3 separate regions of the Homo sapiens genome follow, and regions 2 and 3 are each linked to region 1. The links are contacts of gene promoters, found by promoter capture Hi-C in human tissues and cell types (Jung and others, 2019). All regions are on one chromosome and are shown on one strand. Each heading gives the region's core, a stretch centred on a gene start or on the middle of the fragment in contact. The rest is flanking DNA. Distances are from core to core; before and after follow the strand shown.

Region 1 (3,981 bases), core at 816-3,315:
ATCTCGGCTCACTGCAACCTCCATCTCCCGGGTTCAAGCAATTCTCCTGCCTCAGCCTCCTGAGTAGCTGGGATTACAGGCGCCCGCCACCACAGTTGGCTAATTTTTGTATTTTTAGTAGAGATGGGGTTTCACCATGTTGGTCAGGCCGGTCTCGAACTCCTGACCTCAGGCGATCCGTCCGCCTCGGCCTCCCAAAGTTGGATTATAGGCGTGAGCCACCGCGCCCGGCCACCTAATCACATTTTCAAGACAGCTGTGGCTACTTGGGACTCTCATCAGCGGCTCCCGAAAAATTTAAAAAAATCAGTTACTGTGAAAATTTATATTAAACTAAGACCGGACTCTGCAAAGAAAATAAAACCATGTAATTCCAAGGCTACATATTTTCAAAGGAATTTAATTCTGTCCTCTGAATGCAATTAAGTAGTCTCTCTCTCTCTCTCTCTCCGTTTGAGGAAGAGAGAAGGGAAGAAGGGATGATTCTCACTTTTCACTAGGAACCGGTAACCATACCTGCTGTTCTGCCAAGTCTTCGCCGATTCTCTGATTTCTTAGTGCTCAGGGAGTATGCTTGAAACCTATGCCTTCCTCCCATGTTAGATAACCAGAAAGTTTGCTGTAGTTATGATAAATCTGCATAACTCGGAGATGTTTTTGGCACAAAGTGTACGTTAGTTAGATGATGATGATTAAGCTCCCCCCCCACCCCCGCCCCATTCTTGCGGCCGGGGAGTGTGTTTTGCCTGTATTTAAGAAATATCGTTCAGCTGCAGGCGTGTGCGCGCTTAGGCTGTAGTCGGCGTTTCTGAGTCTCCAGGGCAGGGTGACTTGGGTCGGCTGAGTGTCACCCACAGATGTGACTGTTCTTTCCCCCGCGGGCGCGACAGCCTCCTTCCTCTCCAGCCCGAGGCCCGCGGCCCAGACCACGGGAAAGGGAAGGAAGCCCTCGCCGCAAGCCGGCGTCTGGGCCGGCACAAAACGCTCCGCCACCAGAAAAACTTTTTTCCCCCAGCTGCGCGCAACTTTTGGCCTTTTCTCCCAGCACGTTCGCGTCCCAGGTTTCTGTCCGCTGGGTTTTCCTCCGCCTCACTCGCCTTCTCCCCAGCGGCGCGCGGAGGAGCTGGGCTGAGAGGGTCGCGGGGAGCCGGGTCGGCCGCGGCTGGGACGCTGGGGAAGGGGCAGGGGAGGAGGGGGCGTGCGGGGCTGGGGAGGAGGAACTGGTCAAAGGGGACAGAGACGCCCGAGTGCCCGAAAAGGAAAGAGCTGCCGCGGTTTGCTGCAGTCGGAATAAAGTTCGCGCCCTTTCCTCGGCGTTTCGCAGCCTCCTCTCCTTGCTCCGCTCCCCACCCCCGCCCCGCAATTTTTTTTTGTGTGTGTGTGACAGCTGGGCGCTAGCGGCCACCTCTACCTCCACGCCCGCAGCTCCCCGGGGGGGGGGGGGGGCGCCAGGGTTGTTTTTCCATCCCCACAAAGTTGTTTTTTCCATCCCCAGAAAGAGAGAGCAAGAACAACCCAAACAACAAACAAGCCCCCAAAGAAGTCACGGGGCGGTGGGGGGAGGGAGAAACATACATCCTCCTTCCCCAAGCCCCTGGACCTCTGAGGACAAACAACACAACGACCGACTTTTATTTTGCAAAAGGGAAGCAACATTGTAGTCACGACAATTCTGCAGAGAGAGGAAAAACTTGTGGGGCTTGCACGGCCGCCGAGGTCACCTCGCCCGCCGGTCCCCCGCCTCCCGCGAGCAGGGCAGCCCCCTCCCGGGACAAGCCGTTCCCTTTTTTTTTTTTTTTGTCCCGAGGAGGAGCCGGGGAACCGTGCCGGCTGGGACTCGGGGCGCGAGCGCGACCCCGGCGCGAGTGTAAATCAGTCACCTGAGCGCAGAGGGGCCGCGGCGAGGGCGCGCGCGGGCGGGCGGGGAGGCGGAGGCGGCGAGAGCGGAGGCCCGGAGGAACTCGGAGGGGGAGGGAGAGAAAGGCCGAGACGGAGGGAGCCAGCGGCGGCCGAGGGGCTGGTCCAGGCGCGGCCGCTAAGAGGAGACCAAGAGGCGGGGGCTGCACTTGACAACCAGCATGCCGAGATGGTAAGAAGTTTCCACCCTCCTTCCTCTTTTATTCTAGACTTCCTCAGAAATGACCCCCGCGCCCGAGCGCCACCGGGGCCGCCCGGGGGCCGTGTCCGCCCTCCGGCCCGCGGCGTGAGGGGCAAGGGGCGCTGAGGAGGGCGGGCCGGGGACCAGAACCCCGGTCCGACCTGATCCCCGCTGCGCTCCCAGTGGCCTCCCCTAAACTTGGCCCCAAGTTTCTGAGGCGAGCTCTAGGTGGGAGGGTGCACGTGAGAGGGGGCTTCTCAAGGTCGGCCCCGCTCGCGGCTTCCGCGCGAAGGTGAGCGGCTGGCTAGGGGAGGCTCCAGGGCGTTGGGGACGGGCTGGGGGGACGAGGTGGAGGGGAGTGGGGGATGAATGGAGCGCTGGCAGGAGCTCGGGGAAGAGAGGAAGGCGGCTGGGACCTACGGGAACTTTTACAACTTGCCGCCGAGTGAGGGACCGGCGGCTGGGCGTGGGTGCCGGGTGCGCTGGGGCGCAGCCGCCCGGGCCCGGCACGTTGACTCTTCCTCTCCCCTTGTCTTCACATTCGGAATCTTCCCGTGGTAAATGGAGATGGGAGGAAATGCTCCCGCAGGCTTTACGGAGAAGGTGCAGAACGCAGGGCAGGAAAATCAACCTTGCAGAGACGGCTCTTTTCGAAGTGCAATTCTATAGGAGCCGATTTGTTTTACTTGCACGTTGACTGGAGGGTGGGATTTGGGGCCTGGGGAGGGAGCAGAATAAAAAATTATATATGCTGAAAAACCCTAGGTGAAATCTCCTGTGAAGTGAGTTTAAGGTTGAAAAAAAGTTCCAAGTGCAAGTGGTGGAGGAGATGGGCTGGCTTTGCCAAGCGAGACTCCAGCACAGCCCCTCTACGAGAAGCGACTTCTTTGCAGCGAGGAAGCGTGCAATTAGTTCGCCTGGTGATGAGCCGCTCTGTCCGCTTTCGGGGAAGTGATTTGTTAGAAATGGGGCTTGACCACTCCCTTCTTTTTAGTTTGCTTCCTCCCAGCGTCGCTATTGTTACCCCCACTTGGGGATCTGACATGGTGTATTCCGTATATAGAGGGAACATATGAGAATACAGGTGAGATAGCGGGTTGGCATTTTTTCCTCTTCCCTGCTCCCTAATGTGACATCTCTTGTTTCAGTGATCAAAGTCACAACTGGAGTGTAGGAGATGGGACTGTCAAATGCAGGGGCGCGTACACACACACACACACACAAAAGCAAGAGCCCAGGACTGTGGTTACAGTAACGCTGACAGAAATTAAAGTGGTTTTGAAAGCAGCGTGCGATTTATGATGGTTCCCATTTACCCTAGAGTCAAGCTGTTGTAAAACTGACGTACAAAAGACATCATAAAATAATCCTGTGTACCCAGGATTAAAGTGGCAAAAAGTGGCCTGTTTTATTTTTATATACTTCGTGGACACTTGGAATTGTTGAAAGCCGTGTTTAAGTGAGACATCACAACAATATTAAATATATCTGTTTAGAGCTTGAGAGTTTTTCTTCTAACGGGCGTTTTACACAAGAACACTGTAAAAGCCGGTGGCAGGTATTATTTTTCTTCCCTTTACCCTAGCCTATGTTAACTATTTGTCTACACATGTATTCCTATATCCTAATGACTTTGAACTGTGGCTAAGCCTGTCTGCCTTCCACTGCTTTGTATTCTGCAATTTCACGTGTTACTGTCCACACGCATACATGCTTTAAATGGGAGGAATTTATTTCTGGCACGTTACTTAGTGTGTCTGATCTGAAGATGTACCCTAGTAGTGAGACCTTGTACAAGTTAACAGAACATTTACTTTTTGGACAAACACACACACACACACAATCCCTTGTGAGCCTTTAGAGAGTATCTGTGTTTTATATTT
Region 2 (3,981 bases), core at 984-3,483, 62 kb before region 1:
CTGTGGTCCCAGCTACTCGGGAGGCTGAGGCAGGAGAATGGCGTGAACCCAGGAGGTGTAAATTGCAGTGAGCTGAGATTGCGCCACTGCAGTCCAGCCTGGGTGACTGAGTGAGACTCTGTCTCAAAAAAAAAAAAAAAAAAAGAAATATTCACTTTGATGAATGTTGCACTGACCATCATATTCAGAGACACCTATGGTTACCTCAATTTACTGGGCACTTGAATGTGTGTTCTATCCGTGCTGTTCCTTCTGCCTTGAATGCCCTTTCTGTTTCAGACAGATCTTTCTAAAATGCAAATCTGACTACATGCCTCAGTTGCTTAGAAACCTTCATTGGCTCCCTGTTGACCTCAGGATAAAGTAGTCCTCAGCCTGATAGAGAAGACTTTCTGGGAGCTGCATCTGGCCTACCTTTTCTAGTATCTCACGAGACCCCTTCTTCCCTCACACGCTGTCCTTGTCAGACCATCTTAAGTCACCTTTCCTTCATGCTCCTCCTCATTGCTCCAGCTTCATGAAATGTCCTACTATCCTATCTGTCTGGTGAATGCCTACTCATATATTTTAAGCCTCGGCTTAAGTATCACCTCCTCTTCGACCACTTTCATGAATTGAAATCACAACTGTAACTATTCTGTCTTTTTTGGGGAGACAATCTCTATGGGTCTATAAAACTTCTGCTCATCTTGCCAGTGGAACAACTCATTGTGTTCTAGACTATCTTTTCAAGGATGCTTGTATGACAGACAGCCTTGGAAGACCGAGATAGTATTTTCCTCCAGAGCCAAGAGCAGGTTTGTTTACTGTGCAGAATAACAAAATTAAGGTCTCTCTCTAGGGCAAAGGGCAGGCTGTTTCTCTACGCTAAAAGATTCAGTTTCGCTAGGCTAACAATTCATCTCCTACAATGCAACCCACAGCATATTCAGACATCACTTCACCCTATTTGTATCACTTTGTAGAAATTGCCATTATTGGGCACTTTGTCTACCAATACTGTCATGATTAATACATTATTTTGTCTCTGATCAAGGAGCCTCATGTCTCTGACAACATCCATGATATTGTGGCAAGCTAACTTAATAGCTTACAAGTAGGGTAAAATCTCAAACCCTTCACAGTTCTTGACAATATTGGCCCTTAACTGTAACATTTCTCAGCTCCTTAATGGTTCTGGACAGTACTATATTTGAACTCTATAACACTTTTAGCATAACACATCATTTTATTGCACTTATTGGACACCTACCACGTGCCACACACTACGACAAGACCTGAAAGATAGAAAGCCAAAAGACATGGTTGCTATCCTCAAGGAGTTTATACTCCAGTACAGAAACAGACCCCAACAATTAAAATCCTTCAAGATAATTTATAAGCTTTATAAATTACTTATGGGAACATCAGAAAGAAAATGTAAGGCTGCAAGGGGTTAAGGGAAGACTTCACTGAGGTGGTAATTTTATTCTAGCCTTGTAGGTTCAGATGAGAATTTTCCTGGACAATGAAGGGAAAGGTGTTCTTGCCAAGTACGCACAAATTCTAATGATAATTCCAAATCCTGCTGAATATGACGGTCAGTGCAGCATTCGTCAAAGTGAATATTTCTTTTTTTTTTTTGAGACAGAGTCTCCCTCAGTCATCCAGGCTGGAATGCAGTGGCGCGGTCTCGGCTCACTGCAGTTTACACCTCCTGGGTTCGCGCCATTCTCCTGCCTCAGCCTCCTGAGTAGCTGGGACTACAGGCGCCCACCACCACGCCTGATAGATAGCTAGATAGACAGACAGACAGACAGACAGACAGACAGACAGACAGACAGACATGGTTTGGCTCTGTGTCCTCACCCAAATCTCATTTCAAATTGTTATCCCCATATGTTAATGGAGGGAAGTGATTTGATTACGGGGGTGGTTTCCCCCATGCTGTTCTCATGATAGGGAGTGAATTCTCACGAGATTTGATGGTTTTGTAAATGGTAGTTTTTCCTGCGCTCACACACACTCTATCTCTCCTGCCACCATGTGAGACGTGCCTGCTTCCCCTTCCGCCATGATTGTAAGTTTTCCGTGGCCTTCCCAGCCATGCAGAACTGTGAGTCAATTAAACCTCTTTCCTTTATAAATTAAGGAAGAGTGTACCTTGGGTAGTATCTTTATAGCAATATGAAAACGGAAAACACACATATATAATGCCACAAGGGATGCAGCAAAAAAAGTAGACAAGGCCATTTCATGGAGAACATTGTTGATTGAGAAACTCCTTGGAAAGGAATTGAGACTTTGTCCTGCATGTGATTATACTAATTATCAATAACACTATAGGCAAGGAGAAGCATTGAAGTAGTGAAATGGCTTTAAGCTTCTAGTATAAACCCTAGCACACAGTAAGCTTTTGAGCAGATTTTTTGTTGTTGTTGCAAATAATAGAAAATTCAATTCAATCTGGTTTAAATAATAAAGGTAATTTATTGGTTCATGAAACAAAATGTCCAGTCAGAGACATCAGGCATGGCTTGAATCAGAATTTCTTATCATTTGGGCTCTGGGTCCATTTTTCTGACTTTCTTGGCTCTGCTGTCCCCTCTGTGCTTGCTTTATTCTCAGACTACATTTCCTCATAGAACAAACATAGCTGTAACAATTCCATGTCTCACAGCTACATACCCTCTGGAAGGAAAGTGAACACCCTTTATCTGAACATTCCAAGCAGAATTTAAGTTTTGCTCCAATTGGCACCCTAGGTCAGATGTCACAAAAGAACCAACCTATGTGTCAAAAGAGATGGAGGCCGGTTGCAGTGGCTCATGCCTGTAATCCCAGCACTTTGGGAGGCCAAGGCAAGCGGATCACGAGGTCAAGAGATGGAGACCATCCTAGCCAACATGGTGAAACCCCATCTGTACTAAAAATACAAAAATTAGCTGGGCGTGGTGGCACTCACCTGTAGTCCCAGCTACTCGGGAGGCTGAGGCAGGAGAATCGCTTGAGCCTGGGAGGCGGAGGTTGCAGTGAGCCAAGATAGCACCACTGCACTCCAGCCTGGGTGGCTGAGCAAGACTTTGTCTCAAAAAAAAAAAGAGAGAGAGATGGAATATTCTAGGTCACATGCTCCATTGGCAGAATCACATGGATTTCAAGATAGAAACAAAAGCCTTATAGAAAGCGAAAAGAAGGATGTTGATTGCTGAAGAATAAACACCAAGTGTACAAGTTGGCCCCAATAGATGTTTCCCAAATGGACAAATAATATCTGGCATTGATGGTATTTGCAACCTAATATGATCTCTCTGGTGCAACTGTAGAGGAGGTGGATGAAACTCTTAAGACTAGAGGCAATAAGATCAGTAAGAAGGATACTACAATGAAAGTCATGATAGGAAGAAGGGATAGAGAGTGAATGAGTGGATCTGACACTTTCTTTTTTTTTTTTTTTTTTTTTTGAGACAAGGTCTCTCTCTGTCACCCAGGCTGGAGTGCAGTGGTGTAATCACAGCTTACTGCAGCCTCAACTTCCTGGGCTCAAGCGATCCCCCCACCTCAGACCCCCTCCCCGCTGGTCCCCAGTAGCTGGAACTACAGACGTAAGCCACTATGTTCAGCTAATTTTTTAATTTTTTGTAGAGATGGGGTCTCACTTTGTTGCCCAGGTTGGATCCGACACTTCTGAGCATGTCCCTCCTTAAAGATGTAGCTGAGAAGCACTGGTATGTGCTATTCTTCCCTAGTACATTTTAAAATGCCTCCTAGACAGAGTTATCTGTCTGGATGCCCTGTAAACCTGTTCACCCTAACCTATAAATAGGCTCAGTGACTCCTATTCTTAAAAAATAACAACTGCAACATTGGCCAGGCAGGGTGGCTCATGCCTGTAATCCCAGCACTTTGGGAAGCCAAGGTGGGTGGGTCATCTGAGGTCAGGAGTTCAAGACCAGCCTGGCCAACCTGCTGAAACCTCTTGTCTGTTAAAAATACAAAAAT
Region 3 (3,981 bases), core at 433-2,932, 42 kb after region 1:
TCTTTAGGGGGGCATTTCTGTTCCCCTGGGGAAATAAACTTCCTATTTATTTTTCTTAAGTATTTTTAAGCTTGGTTACTTATTTTTTTAAGTAATCCCTGCCACTGTTTATATGTAGAACCCAAGTAGCATTTGTAGTTGAATTTTGTACATTAAAAATATTTTGATCAGCAAATATTTAACAAGTGCCTACTGTGCGTTAAGATGTTTGTAGAATTGCCGTTTTGTTTGTGAATGTTAGCACTGGGCATAGATCTAAATCCTCCTCTTTGCAAACACCCCTGAGAATAGGAACTAAGGTGAGAATGTGTTTTGGCCTATATCGTGTTTTCTAGTCATTTCTATGTATTTTATTAGAAAAATATTTTTAAAAAATGTTTTGGGTTAGGGAACCAACCCACTTGTCCAACTTGTGAAAGTCTGCGGAACACCACCACCATCAAAAAAGACAACATATTCGGATCAGGAATGTAATCACCCAGTCACCTAATAAAAAGAGTGCTTGAGTATGCATATGGAACAAAAAAGCAAAACCATTCATTTGGTAAAGGGTGAGTAGGGGCCAGGAGACAGCCCTACCCTGAAGATAGAATGCTTTAAAAACATGTTGCCATTAATATTTAAGACAGAAAGCGTTTTGAGCCCGCTCCTCTCTTCTACCCTTCCTCAGCATTCATGTTGTAGTTTGCTCCCTAATGCTCACAAGTCCGTGCCAGACGGAAATTCGCAGAGGCCGCTGCAGTCCCGCAGAGGCCACTCAGGGGAGGGACGCGGGCGGAACAGTCGCGCTCAGTCCTCCCAGGCCGCCCCAGGCCCCAGGTCCCCTGGTGCCTCGTGCCGGCTCCTGGCTCGCCTCCCTTCTGCTCTGCCCAGCCCACCCCGCCGCCCCCCTGCTCACACATGCGGCCTCTCCCCCGCGCCCCAGCCTCTGGAGTCGCTTCGGGGCCATCTAGTCATACGCTGTCCATCAGATGTGTTTACTTTTTTCCTGACAGCCGACACATCTGGAGCACATATTCAGGTTATTCCAGTGCCACTAGACACATTCCACAAGATCATTTCAGCGGTTGTTATGGCGATCTTCCTCCCTCCAGTGATTTTCAAGTTGCATGACAGAAATAGCTGGAGCTAACCAGGGGGACAAAAGTCAACGGGATCAGGAAGGGCTTCTTTCACAGAATGAACTAATTAGTGACCCTGCTTTCTTCACAGGGCAATGAGCATATGGTTTAATAAAGTGAGTCTGTGACACTTTTTTTTTCTCTGTAGGCAAAGCTGTCACTGGCTGAAAACTTTCCTGTTTTTACTGGTGGGACCGTAGTCTGCTGTCTTTCAACAGAGTTTACTTCACAAGTAGAAAATGTTTGCTCCTGAGAGTTAAGCTTCAGAACGTATTCTTGGCTTCATACTACCTAACTATAGCAGGTCCTGTAACTTAAAGAGACAGTATTAATTTTATATTCATTTCATGGGAAGGGTTTATGCTTACTCAAGACTAAGCATTTTCAGTTAGGGTTTTGTAAGTATTATGAATTGATACCTGGAAGTTCAGGTAAATATAATGTGTTGTTTGCTGTGGTTTTTCTATAAAATATAATCAGTATTTCTCACTGGATTAGTTACAAATTTATTTGAACCTGTGATTTTTTTTTGGGCACAGTTATAGAATATTTTGGTATTAAAAGATTTGATTAAGCTACTCCATTTTTATCACATTTTAAGTAGCATGCAGATGTCTGGTTATGTCTGTCAATTTTTTTCCTGAGGTACTTTTTACATTTTGTGTAGGATTTTGGATGACTTTATAGTGTGAACATATCATTGCAGACATGGAAATTTAGACCTGAGATCATTTAGTGTTAGTAGTAGAAATACTGCTTTCAGTTTATAATGGATATATAAGGTAATTCTATAAAGCACTGCCATCTTTGATCACTTTATGAAGAATACAGACATGCCTCAATAAATGTTTTTTGGATGAATGGGCATATCATATGGATTCAAACAAAATACATGTTGCCATTAATCATGAGTCTGAGATTTATAAATTATAGGGGCCCATTTTCTTTTTTGTTTTTGTATTCCTGTACTGTAATTCAGTCTTGAAAAATGTAGCCAGCTATACATGTTTCACACTTCTTCCCATATGTACCATGATACTCTTTTACACACGTGTGCACATAGAATCTCTTAATCTCCTTTTCTTGTTCTTTCACCAGTACTCACAAATTCCACTCCTTTGCACGCACCCCATTTTTAGGTTGAGACCCAATGCACTTAAGTCACCATGAACAACAAAGTTTATAGTTTTCCTTTTTGATCGAATTACTCATGTGTTGACTGAGTTCTCCGGATTCTAGGAATATGACAATGAGTGACAAGTAGGAGAATCAGAGCTGGACTCACCCAAGCAATTGTCTTCATCTTTCTCCATCAGTACAATACCTCTTTCCTCCACTCTCAGTCAAATTCCTGTTCAGTGGGTCCCACTGAGGCTGGTCGCAGCTGCTCTGGAGTACCTGCTCTCAGGAAGACTAGAAGAACACTGAAAGGTCACATAATTACATGTGAATTTAATTCACAGAGACCTGCTTGTCGCTTTTCCATGTGTTTCTCCTAGTTACACATTATTAACTGTGGTGCCTTGTAGGGCTTCAATTACTTGGGCAAATATGTATCGTGCAGAGACTGAGCACAAGTTAGAATGCTGAGAGTGGTTATAAAATTATGTTTTCCTCTCCAGATGTAACTTTACAGTAATTAAACCTAATGCAATGTAAGCATTATAGTCAGTGCTGTGGTAGCTATCTCCAAGTCTAATTGGTAACATCGCTTAAATCATAGCACTTATTGCTGGTTATCTGGGAACTGGAATAAACCAAAAAAGTTACATACATTAACCTTTGGTTTTTCTGCATCAGGTGAAGTGGATAGCTTGTCCCTTCATCAAAATCTGTCATCTGTATTATATGGAATTTTGATAGCATTTAGAAAATTTTTTTCTTATTTAGATAGCTCTGTGTATTCATCCATCCATCGATCATCCATCCATCCATCTATCCATCCATCATTTCATCTGTCTTTAGGCTATTTTCCATAGTTTGTTGCCCTGGATTTGGAGACTTGATCCAGCACAGAGCTATTGTCCACTTGGGTTATTGGGGTTTCCCTTTCTAAGTAGATGATCAAAATCCATGGTGAAAACATGCTTGCCTTCCATAAAGGGCTACTTGTTTACTATATTTCAGTCATTTTTCTGCCAAAAGTAAAAAGTAAAAGAGTCCAAAAGATAGAAAAGAATCTCAAGTTTAAAATTTTCTTTTGCATTTATTATACCCAAGAATATGGCAAGCAGCTTAATTTAATCAAGCAGCAAGAGTGCCAGACAGTTTTCCTGCATGTGAGAGCTAAATAAATAGTGGACCTCCGTATGGCAGTGATAATCGCAACTTAGAGGGTTTTCTCAGTTGTGAAATGTTTGTGTTAAGGATGACTTTTTTGTTGTTTTTGTTACAGTCTGACAGCTGAAGATGCTTTTAAAACCTTCTAGTTACTTAGAGCAGAGCTATATGGCACAGGCTTGGTGGTTCTAAAAGGCAGGTCCTATCCATCACAGAAACAGCAAGTCTCTGGGTTATGGGGGAAGATTGAGCGGGGGGGAGTGAAGTAAGGAGAAAGGGGGGCTGTTGTGTCCAGTTTACATTTGTCACCAGTGACTAGCTTTTAAAAAATGTGTTAGCTGTGCATGGTGGTAAGTAAGATCCAGCTGCAGGGGATTATGGCTTTGAGTGGGTCGGGGAGCTTGGAATGCATTCAGTTCCATCAGGGGATTTGTGTCCCTCGTCATCAGCCTTAACATTGCTAACACAGTAAAGATTAGGAACAGACCAGTGTCACCTGCCCTGAACTTTGAAAAACCCTGGAACCATTAAACAAAGGGGTTTGCTAGTTTAGAAAGTGTCCCTTCTCTCTGTCCAAAGT

The links. Contacts are between HindIII fragments. The study calls those that stand out against the background at their distance.
Region 2: a fragment that was not itself captured here is called in contact with the fragment with the promoter of BNC2 in region 1 in 1 of the 25 tissues and cell types used here (lymphoblastoid cells).
Region 3: a fragment that was not itself captured here is called in contact with the fragment with the promoter of BNC2 in region 1 in 1 of the 25 tissues and cell types used here (hippocampus).

The regions. Positions count from the first base shown.
Region 1 is chr9:16,868,754-16,872,734 of GRCh38, reverse strand. BNC2 (basonuclin zinc finger protein 2) reads left to right here and starts at 2,065. Exons shown (of 7, transcript NM_017637.6): 1 at 2,065-2,089. The coding sequence starts at 2,087. The HindIII fragment of the contact is 8,994 bases long and covers 1-3,981 here.
Region 2 is chr9:16,930,622-16,934,602 of GRCh38, reverse strand. No RefSeq gene overlaps it. Among named protein-coding and RNA genes, the nearest start is that of BNC2, 62 kb to the right of the region's middle. The HindIII fragment of the contact is 3,915 bases long and covers 276-3,981 here.
Region 3 is chr9:16,825,899-16,829,879 of GRCh38, reverse strand. All of the region lies in intron 1 of BNC2 (basonuclin zinc finger protein 2), which reads left to right. Among named protein-coding and RNA genes, the nearest start is that of BNC2, 43 kb to the left of the region's middle. RefSeq lists an enhancer at 833-1,002. The HindIII fragment of the contact is 3,516 bases long and covers 1-3,440 here.